Linked DNA regions of Homo sapiens: region 1 is linked to region 2. Evidence: promoter capture Hi-C in 16 types of primary human blood cells and fetal thymus (Javierre and others, 2016). All regions are on one chromosome and are shown on one strand. Each heading gives the region's core, a stretch centred on a gene start or on the middle of the fragment in contact. The rest is flanking DNA. Distances are from core to core; before and after follow the strand shown. Region 1 overlaps TBC1D5 (TBC1 domain family member 5). Region 2 holds the start of OXNAD1 (oxidoreductase NAD binding domain containing 1).

Region 1 (4,888 bases), core at 1,533-4,032, 1.1 Mb after region 2:
GAGACACCATGCAGTTCTGTGGACTGAAAACACAAAGTATTCCAGATAAGAGAGGGAAGTATGAAGCAATGACTCCTCCAGTCTTTTCCAAAATCAGCTCCTATTCACAAGTACTAAGAAATTGTAAAAGTACAGGCACAGCTGGTGGCTAGATTCATTGCCATCTTGTCAAGTTAAGCAGGCTTTTAAGGTCAAGTTACATACTACTTATGTAATGAAGGATAATTATTTGTTAGCTTAAATAAGACCCTGTACCTTGATTACGGTGTTGGTATAGGGAAAAGAAGACTGAGGCATGTGAATTGGAAACATTATCTCTGAAATTTACAATCATTTAAATTTATTCATGGGTACTTACAGTTCTAATTAAGGCATAACATCTCAAACTGATGAACGGCTCTAACAACAGAGGAGCATAAAGGCCACATAATAATATATTAATTGTCTTTCATTTCTATTGAATAGTGTTTCATCAATAAACTGTAACACAGAGTAAATATAAACATTTATTAAGCGCCTACTATGTGCTTAGCACTCACAGGCATATTTTTTAAAACATACAAAGTTAAAGAGTGGACAGATGGATGTGTAAACCAATAATAAAATGATTACTGCAAAGCACTCTGGTAGTACAGAGGGGAAAGAAATGGTTTGATACTTCAAAATTAAAACTTAGGATATAAAATAACAGTAGCACCATAGCCACTGAAATACTACTGCAAAGAATTGAGTAGAAATGATTACTGCAAAGCCCTCTGGTAGTACAGAGGGGAAAGAAATGGTTTGATACTTCAAAATTAAAACTTAGGATATAAAATAACAGTAGCACCATAGCCACTGAAATACTACTGCAAAGAACTGAGAATCAAACATTAAACAGATTCCAGAGGGTAAACTGCTGAAAGGTTTAGCCCTTCTAGGGGAGAAGGATCAAAATGAAGGTTTTTTTACAATCACAAATATGAATGGTAGGCCTGCTCCTGAAGTTGGAGGAAGACATGATTAACAATAGAAAATATTGAGGTGTCAGTGGTGAAATATTTCAGTTTAATTTAAAAAAAAGTAGTTGCTAAACTTATTCTTACATAAAAAAATATACTTACAATGTGCCTGAAAAGCAAAAATCTGACAATAATGCCATCGAAATGCTTTTAAAAGACCCACTTATGATATAATATTTTAGGTAAATCACTTAGGGTATATATTTTTAACCCCTCTTTATGAATGAGGAAAGTAAGGTTCAGAAAAATTGAATAACTTGTCAAGAGAATAAAGAAATGAGAAATAGGAAAGACATCTTTCTGGAATAACATGGAAGTAACCACTAAAGGGAAACATGATTCTCCAGACACCAAGAGCAAAAATGACCTCTGGCAACAAGGCAATATAGAAATATACCCTTGTTTTCTTCCTCAGATTTTTAGTTTTTGAATATCAAGCCCATGGACATGCAGATAACTTTTTACTAGTTGGACTGAGAAGATAAGTTAACAACAGTCCCTGTGAGTAGTTAAGAACCTGGGTGTTTAGGTGTGCAAAACCTTAAATGGAATGGATTAGCCACCTGGACCTTGAAGATTTCCTTAACAAAGCATTAGTGCCACCTAGTGGCAATTACTCTATCTTGCAGATACTTGGTCCCTGAAAACAATCAGCATCTAAGCAGGGAAAGGTGAAGATGAGTAGGTTTCATTTCTCAGGCCAATGTTAATAGATCAGTACTGGCTGCCTTGGAAGCACCATGCTGAGAAGGACTCTGAGCTTACTGGTGTGCTCCTCAGGAAACAACACTGTAACTTATTAAATATGTAGGCCATGATTGATGCAATTATTTCTCAAAAAATAAAGTCAACTTCTGCAGCAGGAATTGATACCTTCCCTCTAAGACCTATTTGGGTAGTTAAGCTTCCTGCAATGGCTATTTTGACATGGAAAGCAATCAGAATATGTAGTGGATAAATACAGCTGATGATTATAATGAGATTATCTATTTGTAATTATATATTTTAACATATAATTAAATAGTAGTTTCCCAAGATATGCTCATAACATTGGTGTGAAACTAGTACCTTCTAAATTTGTTAATATCTTCTAAATTTAATAGTTGAAATACCTTTATAACCTACATGATGACTAATAAATTACTAAATTATGTGCTAATTTATGACTAGAAGGCTTCTGAATCATTGTCCCAAATGGTGATACACTATGGAAAACACTAATTTTACACTGTATAGGTTTATATGATGGTTTCTATCCCATTTTTAAGCTTAACATGGAAAGGAAACAATGTGTTTGTGGGCTAACTTAAGAAATCCAAATGACTACAATAATAGCAAAGAGTTCAGGGCCTACATACAGTTTAAGACTGAAGATCTCTAATCATTGGTTAAGAGGAGCTACTTAGGCTTCTACTGACAATGAAATTGCTGAGTGGTTAAGAGAAGGGATTCTCACCTTGGGGAAAGCCAAAAGTCACAGACAGTGGAAGAAAAAAGAGATAAGGTAGAAAGTTGCTTTTAGCTCTCTGGGAGGTATAGTGATAGGGAAGTGCAGCAGACAGCTCTCAGAGATGATCATGGAGTTTACAAGGTCAGCCAGTCAACCAGATCATTTCATTGCAATTCTAAGTAGTAAGATAATAGAACAAAGTGGCTACAGCAGGATGAAGCAGGATTTAAGTAGGATTAGATCAGGGTTAGATGGGTAGAATATCTGAAGCTGAGGTAGTAAAAGGTAAGAAAGCTGAACTTGATTCAAAAAGATTTATACAATTTCATAATCCTAAAGTACATGCCAATATTTTTAAAAATTGCCATATTTAGTATGATCCATTTATTTTATCAAAAAGGAGCCAGTAAATTTTTGAATCTGTTTCTAATCTATATCAAAATACATTAGTGAAAGATTTCAATCAATGCCAAGCACTGTACCATAATTCCAGTATTACATTTAAGAGTATATACTTTTAGGCCATTTTAAAGGTATGATTTTGAAAATACTATTCAAATAGAACAAGTAACATCTAACTTAAAATCAATGGAAATATGAAAAGTGTAAATTAGGTATGTCAGCATAAGACTGTAAAGTGTGGCACCAGATATGGGTAAGCTACAACATTAGGACTGCAGGTGCCAAGATCAACCAGATAAACACTGATGTTATCTATAATTACCTCATTTTTAGCTTAAATCACAGGTAATGAGGGAACTCACGAGTCTCTAAAAGGCAATTACAAACTGTACTGGCTTTTTTGCTTCCTGTACCACGAATTTTCTAAAACTTACTTTTATTTAAAGCTTTTTTCTCCTCCATAATGAAACATCAGGGCATATCTCTTATACATAAATATATATAAAAAAACAGAATGCACAATTACACACAAGCTTAAAATGTATTTTTTCATATGTCTAGGTGAAACATGTTATCATATGATAAGGCTCCACTGAAATACAGGTAAAGAATAGTTCATTGCCTAGAGGTTTGTTAAAATTACGGTCATGTTTTGATTCAGGTTTGAACTGAACTTTAAATTGAGAAACCTTGAGCCTTCACCTTAGTTTTCACAGGAACACAAAGAACTGAGTTAAAACAGTTAGTTAGGGACTGTCAAATATAATACTCTCCTTTTTATTATTTATTTATATATTTTTTGAGACAGAGTCTCACTCTATCGCCCTGGCTGGAGTGCAGTGGCGCTATCTCTGCTCACTGCAAGCTCCGCCTCTGGGGTTCAAACCATTCTCCTGCCTCAGCCTCCCCAGGTAGCTGGGACTACAGGCACCCACCACCACGCCCGGCGAAATTTTTTGTACTTTTTTAGTAGAGACGGGGTTTCACTGTGTTAGCCAGGATGGTCTCGATCTCCTGACCTCATGATCTGCCTGCCTCAGCCTCCCAAAGGGCTGGAATACTCTCTTCTTTAAAGGAAAAAACAAAACAAAAACAAACAAACAAAAAAACACAGGCATTATTTTCTTAAAAATACAGTGTGTAAGAGCTTCCAAATCCAGGGTCATATTAAAGTAGGTAAACTCAATAATCATACTTTAAAAAAGGAAACCAAGAAAAGCAGTATCACAAACTTTTTGATTTTATAACAAGCTTTTCACTTTTAATTGTATTAATAATTTAAATATATGATAAACATAATTAGATTAATAATAAAGGACTGGCATTTAGAAATGAAGTGAGAAAAGGATCCTATACCAGCAATCTCTGTGAAGTTGTCTGGAGTAAGTATATTTTATATTCCATGGTTTACTCATGCTTCCTCTATAATTAATAAGGAAAAAATCCTCTCCCTGCAGACCTTTCCTACCTTCTTCCCACCCTCACCTCACCTCATTTACTTTGATATTTGCAATAACTGGCAAGGGCTTGATATCTAACATTCTATAACATGATAAAGAATTTGCCTCACAGTCTGCAAATATAAGCCAATACTGTAAAGGAAAGGCTGGTAGAATAGAGAATAAATTACTTTCCAGTTATTTATAAATAGACATTTATTTAGCGAAACCTGATGTCCTAATTAAAAGTCAATCCTATGACTTAAAGCATGTTTTCCAATAGTGTGTTGACTAACAGGGTATTACCAAACAGAAATACATGTGTGCTTAAATACTTTCTCTAAGAAATATTAAAATCAATTATATTTTAACTGAATCCATCGTTCACTTTACAACCTCTAGATGAGCACTAAGCAAGTAAACTTTCCGAGATGACAGAAATGTTCTACATCTGACTCCCCAATATGGTAAGCACTGACCATACATAGTTACTAAGCAGTTAAAACATGGCTAGTTGCAGCTGAAGAACTACATATTGTATTTTAATTAATTGAAATCCAAATTTAAATAGCTTCATATTGCCAGTAGTTCCCATA
Region 2 (4,872 bases), core at 634-3,133:
ATCTTTACCTATTAAGGCCTTTCTCAGTAAGGCCTGCCATGATCACCCTATGGAAAACTGCAACTTCCTCCCAGACCAGCACTCCTGATCTTCCTTACCGTTTGCTTTCTGTTGCAGAGCACATTTTAATACAAGAATGAATCATTATATTTCTAAATTATAGTCTAAATTATAGCCCGCTTCTCTCATGAGGCTCTGTGCCTCATCCCCACTTTCCCTATATTCATTTTGGACTTCATCCTTGAGAGTGTTAAGGTCCTTACCTAAGATTCCATTCCAAGTACTGAACAAAACTTTGGGTAGGAGTGGGCAGTAATAACATTTTTTTTTTCTATTGTCAACATCCTTGGGTGAAAGATAATAGGGCAACTAAAGACTAAAATGAAATTGTAAAGCTGCACCTAGGAATTATATCTCAAACAAGATAATGCAGAATTCTGTGTATAAGCCAGCACGAAATACCATACAATTGTTCCCTTCAAAGTAAGTCTAGCAGCTCTAAACAATTTTAATTACATATTAAATAGAAGAGAAATATAAAAAATTGTCCACTAAAATAATCTATATACTTTCTATTTAATAAATAATAATTTTCACTAAAGCTAGATTTATCTCTAAAGCTAAAATAAATTACGTAATCTGAACTTTAAACGTTTTAATTTACTATTCGGCTGTTTATCAATGGTGTTTAAAACCTGCCTAAAAAAATACCGCACTTTACCTAGCACAATGAAACATTCTCCTGCACTCATCACTGACAAGCTGATCTAAGTCCTTGCCACTGACTTACAATACCCTTCCCCCGTTTTAAAATTATATCCCTTACTTTGTCATAAATCACTTTTATAATGAGAGAGCAGCTAGGACACGTTGCCACGTCTTCCCCATTCTCCAAATCTTCCTACAACGAAATCAAATACCATGTGGTCAGGATAGCTTCTCTTCGCCATCTCCTCCCCCAAACCTATCCCACCCCTAGATGCAAGTCTCTTGGTGGCTTGCCTTCCCCCCAAGGTGGGTGAGAACCCCAGGGCCTTCAGCGAGAAATGCCGACATCATTTTCCCCTAGAAGCGTCACTTAGGGGAAACACCTAGGAAGGTCAGGCGAGCTTCGGTCGCCCCAAAAGCCCTGGGAAACAAAAAACGAGTCCCCTCCTCGACAGAAATATCCCAGGTTGGGACCCTAAGGCAGGGATCGGGCAGAGAGACAGAGGCTCTCCGCCACCCTCTCCCTGACCTAATCTAAGGCCAGAACTGCGTGCCTACCGAGAGAGCTCAGGGCATTAGTTGGGGTGGGGGGACGCGGGAGGAGGAAGATTCAGCAACGGGAAAGAGGGCGTGGGTGACACAGCGCAGCAAAGGCTACCCAATGATGGAAGGAACGGGCGGAACCAAACTGCGCTTGCTTGGGTGAACCGCCGGGCGGGACCCTGAAGTTACCTTGGTGATGGAGAAGTTATCTCCACATGGGCAGGGATAGAAATACGTCTCCGAGTCCTCGTCATATTGGAAGTCCTCGATTTCCACCTCGTCATGAAACACTGCCATGGTCAGCGGGGGTGGCCGAAGGGGTAACGCCCCAGCAGTCCGAGGCCAGCTCCGAGGGTTTAACTTCGCCGGAACCGGCCTGGGCTCGGCATCATCAGGTCGCGCCGGGCAAGGACTAGCCCTTCCGGCGCATAGGCAATGACGCAACTCCGCCCTGCGCGGCCAAATGGATAACCGGTAGCGGTCACCATGGAGATGGCTGAACTAGGGGCGGAGACACTGGGAAGACTGAAAGCTTGCTCAGCGGGGTCGCGCACCGCTCCTCCTATTGGGCGGCAGCGACCAATAGAATGTGGGGCTCGCCCGCGCTGCTACGTCACGTCTGGGACCGCGGAGTATTCCAGGCGCCTGCAACTAAACGTGGCCGGGTCTGCAAGCTAGGTGCCAGCGGGGAAAGTTTCCCTGCTTCTTATCGTCTGCTTTAACGCCTTAAATAGCCCGCTGAAGGCTGCAGCAGGTGCTAGGTAGCAGCCTCCCGGCCCTCGGGAAAGGCGGGGTGGGGAGGCGAGAGCAGCTTAGCCTCCTCGACCTCCCTTCCTGGTGACGGACGAACAGTTCCCGTAGAATTTCGCTTCACCGAGTGACCTTGAGCCCAGGGCGACGGTCAGCTTGTTAATTCCTGGCTGCAGGTACATTCCGCTTCTTCCTCACCCCAGACGCCTTAAAATACCCTAAATTGTGTTGCTGAAAGGACCAAGCCCTGGAAGGCAGGGATTGAGTTCTAGTCTTCTGTTTGCCAGGCTTATAACATTATTAACGACGATGATTTTTAGTAATAGTAATAACATCACCTTTTATTATTGGGAAGTTATGTGCCAGCTATTGCACTAAGTGGAATTGTCAACTCTAGGAGTTTACATGTTATTCCATTTTATTAATCTTTAAACTGAGGTACAGAGAGTTGGGCATCTTGACTAAAATCATACACCTGGGAAATAATGAAGAGCTTGTCTGTCTCCAAAGCCCAGGAACAAATTACTTATGTGAGTACCAGTTTTTTCGTTGTGAAAGAAATGGTGTCAGTAGGCAGGTTTATCAGTGTGAGGCCTATGTATGCCTTGAAGCGAAATGCAGATAAAAGGCATTTTTGTCTTGAAAGCAGTGCTAGTGCCTGTTTTGGTAAAACCGATTACATTGGGTCTTACTTAATTACTAGGCATTTTAATATCTTAGTAGAGAAGAAATGCATTGTAGTGAAAAAGCACTTTCGAGAGAAGATCTGGGATCGGAATCTTGAGTTGTTGATTACCTCTGGCAACTGGATATTTACATTCTTTGGGCCTTATTTCCTCTTCTAAGAAAGGATTGGAGTAGAGATGATATAAGATCCTTTTTAGATGTAATGTTCCACTTTTGCACGGAAATTATGAGCTTTACTTGGTTCAGCAATGATATATAACATTTAGTTTACATTTACGTAACACATATACATAATATATCCCTGTGCACTTTTGAAGAAAACATTACAATGACTACTAAACTTTACATTTATTCCTAAAAGGGCGGATCACGAGGTCAGGAATACGAGACCAGCCTGACCAACATGATGAAGCCCCGTCTTTACTAAAAAATACACAAATTAGCCAGGTGTGGTGGTGTGCCTGTAATCCCAGCCACTCAGGAGGCTGAGGCAGGAGAATCTCTTGAACCTGGAAGGCAGAGATTGCAGTGAGCTGAGATCACGCCACTGCACTCCAGCCTGGGCGACAGAGCTAGACGCTGTCTCAAAAAAAAAAAAAAAAAAAAAAAAGAAGTAGGTCATAATTGTATAATGCAAACTATATTTGATGAGTGCTGTTGTATATCAGGCCAGAAGGAGTTGTTTATTGGCAATACCAAACCTCCACCTCTCTAGGTTGTTTGACAAGGAAGAGAAGGGGTCAATGTATTAGGATTGATTTTAGTAACACTGTTGCTTGCCAGGTACTTTGGTAGACATTTTATTTATTCCTCTCAGTAATCCAGTGAGGTGGCGTGGGTAATGTTAAAATGGCAAGAGGAGACTTGCTGAAGATTAGAAAGCAGGAAGGAGTCACACCTGAGCCCAGTTCCGCTGATTTCCGGTCAAATACTCTGTGTATACTACTTGTTTACCACTAAGGTGTCTTTGCCTGTTGGAGCAAGAGGAGCCCTTTTTCTTCCTCAGTGACACCTAAGATTCTAAATTGACAGATGTCATGATTGTTCTTTGAACTTACTTAATTTCAGTGCATTTATGCTTATTGAGGCATTCTTGGCTTTTCTCTGTCAGTGTCCTCTCACACCCTGCCTAATGTATCAGCAAGTTTTGGGGCTCTAATTCCAAAATATATGTCATGTTCATCTACTTCTGCCATCTCTGTAGCTGTTACCTTATTATAATCTTAGACCAGAGTCTTTTAACTGGGTTTCCTGCTTCCACTCCTGCCCCTCTCCCTCTGTTATCCTTCCCACAGCAACTTGAGCAGTCCTTTAAAAATATAAATTAGGTCTTGTCCTTCTCCTGATTGATTCAGACTTTTCAGTTGCTTCCCATTACCCTTAGGATAAAATTCTTACCCTTACTATAGACTGCTGGACTTCATCTCATTTCACTCTTACCAGCTTACTGCTCTCCAGTCACACTGGCCTTGGTTCCTTTAACATGCCGGGCTTATTTCTGTGTTGGACCTTTGCTCTTGCTAGTCCTTCTGCCAGAGTTGTCTGCCTTTAACATTTGCTTGGCCGCCTTTTCCTCATCATTCAGATCTCAGCCAAGGTGTCATCACTGGAGAGATGTCTTTCTTGATATTTCCCCCACCTACCCCATCACTCTTACTCCCTTTATCATACTCATCATAATCTATAATTATCTTGTTATTTGTTTACTACTATCTGTCTCTGGAACTGTAATAAAAGCTTCATGATGGCAAGGGCCTTGCGTCTGGTTCTTTATTATATCTCCAAGGCCTAAAATAGTGCCTGGCACCCCTGTAGTTGTTGAATGAACTGAGTATACCTGTTGAACTGAAACCATATAATTAATCTTAAATGTTAAATTTAATCTGTTGCTTTCAGAAGTTTGTTTTACTACATATTTAATGGGTGTCAGTTTTATTTAGCACTTATTATACTTTTCTGCATTTCAGAAATAAAGTTAATTAAGATTTTTTGGTAAGGGAAGGCCTGTGAGGATACAGACATTGATGGGATGGTCTACTTTATATGGTTTTAGAAATAACTTGATATATATTGATCTGCTGTGGTTGATTAAATGCTTACAGTATGGAACCGCCGGACATATTTCAAAAAATTAGTAGGTTTTAAATTTTTTATATTTTATTTAAAGGACTGGCATAAAGCTTT

Evidence for each region. The method cuts DNA at HindIII sites, captures the fragments that hold promoters and counts their contacts. A CHiCAGO score of 5 or more calls a contact.
Region 1: a contact is called between a fragment that was not itself captured here and the fragment with the promoter of OXNAD1 in region 2, in 1 of 17 cell types (fetal thymus). The highest score is 6.7, in fetal thymus.

Annotation. Positions count from the first base shown.
Region 1 is chr3:17,411,521-17,416,408 of GRCh38, forward strand. All of the region lies in intron 4 of TBC1D5 (TBC1 domain family member 5), which reads right to left. Among named protein-coding and RNA genes, the nearest start is that of TBC1D5, 330 kb to the right of the region's middle. The HindIII fragment of the contact is 1,030 bases long and covers 2,268-3,297 here.
Region 2 is chr3:16,263,329-16,268,200 of GRCh38, forward strand. OXNAD1 (oxidoreductase NAD binding domain containing 1) reads left to right here and starts at 1,884. Exons shown (of 9, transcript NM_138381.5): 1 at 1,884-2,177. DPH3 (diphthamide biosynthesis 3) reads right to left here and starts at 1,615. Exons shown (of 3, transcript NM_206831.3): 1 at 1,441-1,615; 2 at 827-901. The coding sequence starts at 1,548. RefSeq lists an enhancer at 1,447-1,756. The HindIII fragment of the contact is 2,642 bases long and covers 1,782-4,423 here.